Linked DNA regions of Homo sapiens: region 2 is linked to region 1. Evidence: promoter capture Hi-C in human tissues and cell types (Jung and others, 2019). All regions are on one chromosome and are shown on one strand. The core of a region is centred on a gene start or on the middle of the fragment in contact, and the rest is flanking DNA. Distances in the headings are between cores, read along the strand shown.

Region 1 (2,928 bases), core at 299-2,798:
ATCCTTGGACATGTCTGGGGAAAGAAATCCAAGGAGAAGAATCAGATTTTCTGCTAATCATTCTGATTTGAACATTGAAAGAAATATGAGCTTTTTTTTTTCATACTGAGCTAGCGAAGCAGGGCACGAGTTAAGAGTATTTGCATACACATCTATTCCTCTTATCAAGCTTGAGAATGCCTAGAGGGTAATCTTTTAAATGAATATTAATATGATATTAACCAGCACATGGTAGATGTTCAAGAAATGTGTATTGACCATAACTGAATTGTAAGACCTCTCTCCAAGCCTCAATTTCTTCACCTGTACAGCCCCCATCCAGATTGAAATCTCACCTACTCGGGCTAAGTATATGAAAAACAAAGGCAGTGCAGGGGTAATTGAACTATTCATTAGATAAATGCTTTTATGTCACTTTTATTGTTTTCTAGGACACAGAGTAATACCTACCTTGGTTAACAAAAGACCAAAGGAGGTGATGCCAAATGCGGTTAGAAGTGCTTTTAATCACTTTGGGAGGCCGAGGCGGGTGGATCATGAGGTCAGGAGATCGAGACCATCCTGGCTAACAAGGTGAAACCCCGTCTCTACTAAAAATACAAAAAAAATTAGCCGGGCGCGGTGGCGGGCGCCTGTAGTCCCAGCTACTCGGGAGGCTGAGGCAGGAGAATGGCGTGAACCCGGGAAGCGGAGCTTGCAGTGAGCCGAGATTGCGCCACTGCAGTCCGCAGTCCCACCTGGGCGACAGAGCGAGACTCCGTCTCAAAAAAAAAAAGAAGTGCTTTTAATCAAATAGTTCAAACGACACATAATTAACATTGTTTTAAAGCAAATGGACACTTTAAAGTGGTGCTCCTTCCTCTTAAAGCCCCAACCAGTGCTGGATTTAACAGCAGAGCCATACAGCCAAGACATATGCTGCTACGGTCAACACTCAACCCTAAGTTTGACACCAAAAGATGGCCGCCATTTATTATTGTGACAAAAGGCCAGATTACAAAACGCTGTGTACGGCCTGATCCCAGTTTTACAAAATACTCATACCCATCTATCTACGACGGGGCGCGGGGAAAGGGGAGTCGTTTTAGGAAGTGCTGCTTATTGCTGCCTGGTGTGGGAAATTATGAGTCTTATTTTCTGTTTATTCTTTTTACAAGAACATTTTTATAAATGAATGAATGAATGCTTTCCATGGGTGGATGAGGATCCGGCCTGCCAGGGTGAGGATCCTCTGGAACCAAGAGGGGCCGGGGCAGTAGAACGACAGGTGGCGGGGCTTTGGGCGGCTCCCTCCAGCCCAGGGAGACGCGAGTGCCAGGCCGGGCGCGCGCTTCACTTCCGGGAAGAGGAAAGAGGGAGGGGAGGGGAGAGGAAAAGAAGGGGCAGGAGAGAGAGGCCGGGAGGTTGGGAAAGGGAGGAGGAAAGCATGGAAAAGGGGCGCGGGAAAACGGGGAGGGCGCAGAGGGGCACGGCCCTCACTGCCCCGGCCGGGGCGAGAGCGGCTCCGCCCCTCGAGCGCCGGGTAGGCCGGGGCCGGCGGGGCCCGGAAGGCGACGGGAAGGAGCCGAGCTTGGGTTATGGCGGCGCCGGGCGCGCTGCTGGTGATGGGCGTGAGCGGCTCGGGGAAGTAGGTCCGGGAGAGGGCGGGGGGCGCCCGGGACAAGTGTTGCGGGCGCGGCGGAGGCCGGACGCGTCGCCGTCCCTGCCGGTGGACTGGGGTCTTGGGGACCCCCCACCCTTCCCTTTGCAGATGAAGAAACCGAGGCCCGCGGCTGCCGCGCCCTCTCCCCGCCCTCCAGCCTGCTCGCGGGGCGCCCATCCTGGGACCGCATCCGAGCTCCGGGTTCCCGCTCTAAGACGGGGAGGCTGCGGCGACCGCAGGCTCAGGGAGGAAGCCGCTCCTGAACAGGCGGCTGCGGGGCCGCGCAGGTGGAGGCCTAGCGAGCGGCGCGGGGCTAGGTTTCGGGGCGCCTTGTCGGGGCCAGGCGGGAGGGCGCACGGCCTCTAGCGAGAGGACGCAAACCACGGCCCAGGCTCTCACAGACCTTTGGCCATCTGGACACACAGCGGCCTCCTCCTATGAGGCCCTGGACTTCTCCGATTCAATTTTGGAAAGTGAATCGTTTTCCCCTTCCTTTCATCAGCTTAACCTGGAAGGAGACAGCGTTAATATGGAGGGTGGCTCCTGAGGGTTTGGAAAGAAAGAAGAGAATTGTGGAAACCACAGAGGTAGCCCAGTGTGCTAACCTGGAGACTGAGGAGTTAACATTTGGCTTCCTGTTTAAACCAAAGTCTAACTGTGCCCTTTATCAGAAAAGACAGCTGCTGTACCATTCGACCACAGGCAGCAAAGGACAGAACTTGATCAGCTAAAACATCATAACCTTCAAGGGCCTATAGGACCCTTCTAGAATTTTCTGAATCAGGAACGGCCCATGTTGTGGCCTGTGTAGTCAGGTGTATATTAAAGATTTACTCCAGGTAGATGGGTTTTGCTTTCCAAAATTATTGTAGGGTTCTCAGCCACAAAGATAAAAAGAAATCTTGAACTGCAATTGAAATAAAACATGGAGCCCCCAAATCCCTAGCTGCCATATGATTTGAATCAGTTGGAGAATGTAAAATCATTGCCATGGTGTGATGTAACAGGAGTGAAGAGCCCTAGGTCTTGGTTCTGTTGCTGTCTGGCTGTGTGAGCCTGGGCAGTTCATGTACCCCCTCTGAGTCTTGAATCAGATGAGGGAGGCCTAATCCCTATGATGTATAGCTTGTGATATTCATGTACTCAGTAATTATTGAGCTCAATCCTTACTCTATGTCATTGTCATATAGCGAACAGGACAGATAAAATCCCTGCCCTCAAAGGATTTACATTCTGGTATGGGAGACAGAGTAAATGAATATATGTAGTGTGTGAGTTGGTGATAG
Region 2 (2,928 bases), core at 184-2,683, 190 kb after region 1:
TTAGCAGTTCAAAGTTGTTTCATTACGGTAAGTACTATTCTAACAAACTAATTGCCACAACCAATTTTGTCTAGGAAGCATATCTGGTTTTAAAGTGTTGATTTAAGCCAGCCGGGCATGGTGGCTCACGCCTGTAATCCCAGCACTTTGGGAGGCCAAGGCGGGTGGATCACAAGGTCAAGAGATCGAGACCATCCTGGCCAACGTAGTGAAACCCCATCTCTACTAAAAATACAAAAACTAGCTGGGCATGGTGGCGCACGCCTGTAGTCCCAGCTACTCGGGAGGCTGAGGCAGGAGAATCGCTTGAACCAGGGAGGTAGAGGTTGCAGTGAGCCAAGACTGCGCCACCACATTCCAGCCTGGCAACAGAGCGAGAGACTGTCTCAAAAAAATGAAAAACTAAAGTGTTAATTTAAGAGAACTAGGATGCATTGGCTGCTTAAGTAAACTGCTTCTAAAAATGAATAGCCTAAGCTACAAGCAGGAGAATTTTTTTTTTCTCTTTGTGTATACATGGGGTCTCACTATGTTGCCCAGGCTGATCTCAAACTCCTGAGCTCAAGCAATCCTCCAGCCTCGGCCTCCCAAAGGGCTGGGATTACAGGCATGCACCACCAAGCCCGACCCAAGCAGAAGAATTCCTAAGTGGCTGGTAGTCTTGGCCTCTATCAAGGTTTGGAGGCACATTGCCATTATGACCTTATCCCTCTACACTATGACCTCACTAGAATCAAGACAGCAGCAGCCATATCTCAGTCCAGAAGACCACAATTAGGGAACTTCAGAAAACACACACACACACACACACACACAATTATACATATAAAATCCTTAAATCAAGAACAACCAAATATATTACTTTTTATGAGATGAATGATAGCCATCTTCTATTAACACTACCAATTAGCCTGACCAAAAAAAGGTATTAATGTAGATGCCAATTAGTGTGGCCTCACTGAAATATAACTTAGATCGAAATTAACTGAGCGTAATATGAAATGGCACCAAGTATCACTGATTTAACACCTGGTGAAATAAAAAATTGTGTTATTTCATGTTCTGTTCTTCAGATAACCAAACAGTATCTTTCACTTTGGCTTCTTAAAAATTAGGGTTCACAGGCCAGGTGTGGTGGCTCACACTTGTAATCCCAGCACTTTGGGAGGCAGAGGTGGGCAGATCACGAGGTCAGGAGTTCCAGACCAGCCTGGCCAACAAGGCGAAACACCGTCTGTATTAAAAATACAAAAAAAAAAAAAAAAAAAATTAGCCAGGCGCCTGTAATCCCAGCTACTCAGGAGGCTGAGGCAGGAGAGCTGCTTGAACCTGGAAGGCAGAAGGTGCTGTGAGCCGAGATCGCGCCATTACACTCCAGCCTGGGCAACAAGAGCAAAATTCCGCCTCAAGAAAAAAAAAAAATAGGGTTCACAATCAGCAAGTGTGAAGTGCATACTAAAACTCTGCTCCAAACACACTTACTGTAAGTGATGTAAACCCAATGGGTATGCCCCAAACTCCATTTTTTTCTCATAGTTAAGTACTGAGATCCCTCTCCAATCTGCAGCTCCCACTTTCTGCAGGCCAAGAAAGTTAAACAAAAAATACAAGCAGGTACTCAGTGAGGACCTGAGGGATTCTCCCACGAGTAAAATACATCTATTTTCACACAAGGTTCTTTTGGTCAACTTCTGGGTTTTGCTCTTACTCCAGAATTGAAGCTACTATAGTGTTATAAATCTGTTGAGAAAAGAAATCTAGACTTCTATGAAGATTTTTAATATTTTAATTTGCCAAAAAGCTTCTCAAATATTTTTATAGCTACAAGTCACATTTATTAAATGATTCCAGTTACAATCCCAAGCACATTTACTACACAACAGACAATGCTAAATGGTGAAGAAAAGTGTCTCCGGCTTTTTAGTGTAAGACAGACGATCTTTCATTAGTTCTTCTAATGAAAGCACTTGCATCTACTCTGAAAAATCTGGCGAAGGTAAAGAGTGAAAAAGAGGAGGAAGAGAAAAGGCAATCAGCCAATTTGATAAACTATTTTTGTCGTTACTGTTCAATATTTATGAAGCACCTTAATGCTAGAGATCTGACAAAAATTCGGTAAGGCTGTTCCAAACAATAACAGAAAAAAAAATCACTTTTCAATAGCTGGCGGGGGAGGAGGAGGAGCACTATATTCAAAAAGTAATTCACTATACCTCATTCATGAATGAAAGCCAAATTTCACCCATAGGCTGTTAACCGATGCTCCGAAACTTATTCGCAAAGTACATAGAGAAAGAAATTGCGCTGGGCGAAACCTAACTCGGGCAGAGAAGCGGCTTCAAAACCTGAAAGGGAGAAAACGAGTCAGGTCGTTGCTCCAGAAATTTCCGAGCGCCCGGCTCCCCGGGAGGGAGCGCGGGCGCCAGCGGCGGGGAGGGGACGGTGGCACCTGTCACTCGAGCGGCCCCCACGGGGTCTCGGGAGGCTCAGCGGTCGCCGGCCTGGGAGTCGGGTGCGAGTCCCTCCCCGCCGCCCCGAGCCTTGCGCCGAGCGTCGGGCCGCGGCCCTCCCGTGCCCTCTGCCCAGCGGCTCCGGTCAGTGGGGCCCGTCGCCTCAGGCCGAGTCCCCGCCACCCGAGGCCGGGGCGCCGAGGGGAGCGCTGTCGAGCCGCTGCCTACGCCTCCGGGGTGCCGGAGCGGACACCCGCGAGGCGGGCCCGCCTCCGCGTACTCACCGGGCCTCCCGTGCCGCCGGCTCGGCCCTCCTCTCCCTCCTCCCCCCGCCGCCGCCTCTCCCGCGGCTCCCCGGGCGGCCGCACTGGGCGTTGGGACTGGTCTGGGTCAAGTGTCGGCAGAGCTGGGGGCAGGCTCGCGCCGGGCGGGGGTCGCGGTCGGCCCACAGGCTGGGCACTAACGGGTCCCGGGGCGC

What was found. The method cuts DNA at HindIII sites, captures the fragments that hold promoters and counts their contacts. A contact is called where the count stands out against the background at its distance.
Region 2: a fragment that was not itself captured here is called in contact with the fragment with the promoter of IDNK in region 1 in 1 of the 25 tissues and cell types used here (hippocampus).

What each region holds. Positions count from the first base shown.
Region 1 is chr9:83,621,595-83,624,522 of GRCh38, forward strand. IDNK (IDNK gluconokinase) reads left to right here and starts at 1,549. Exons shown (of 5, transcript NM_001001551.4): 1 at 1,549-1,627. The coding sequence starts at 1,578. RefSeq lists a silencer at 1,244-1,773 and enhancers at 1,954-2,083, 2,104-2,153. The HindIII fragment of the contact is 12,457 bases long and covers 1-2,928 here.
Region 2 is chr9:83,814,783-83,817,710 of GRCh38, forward strand. GKAP1 (G kinase anchoring protein 1) reads right to left here. Exons shown (of 13, transcript NM_025211.4): 1 at 2,735-2,928; 2 at 2,214-2,345. It overlaps LOC101927552 (a long non-coding RNA gene), which reads left to right and starts at 2,884. Exons shown (of 6, transcript XR_001746793.2): 1 at 2,884-2,928. RefSeq lists a silencer at 2,362-2,928. The HindIII fragment of the contact is 6,997 bases long and covers 1-2,928 here.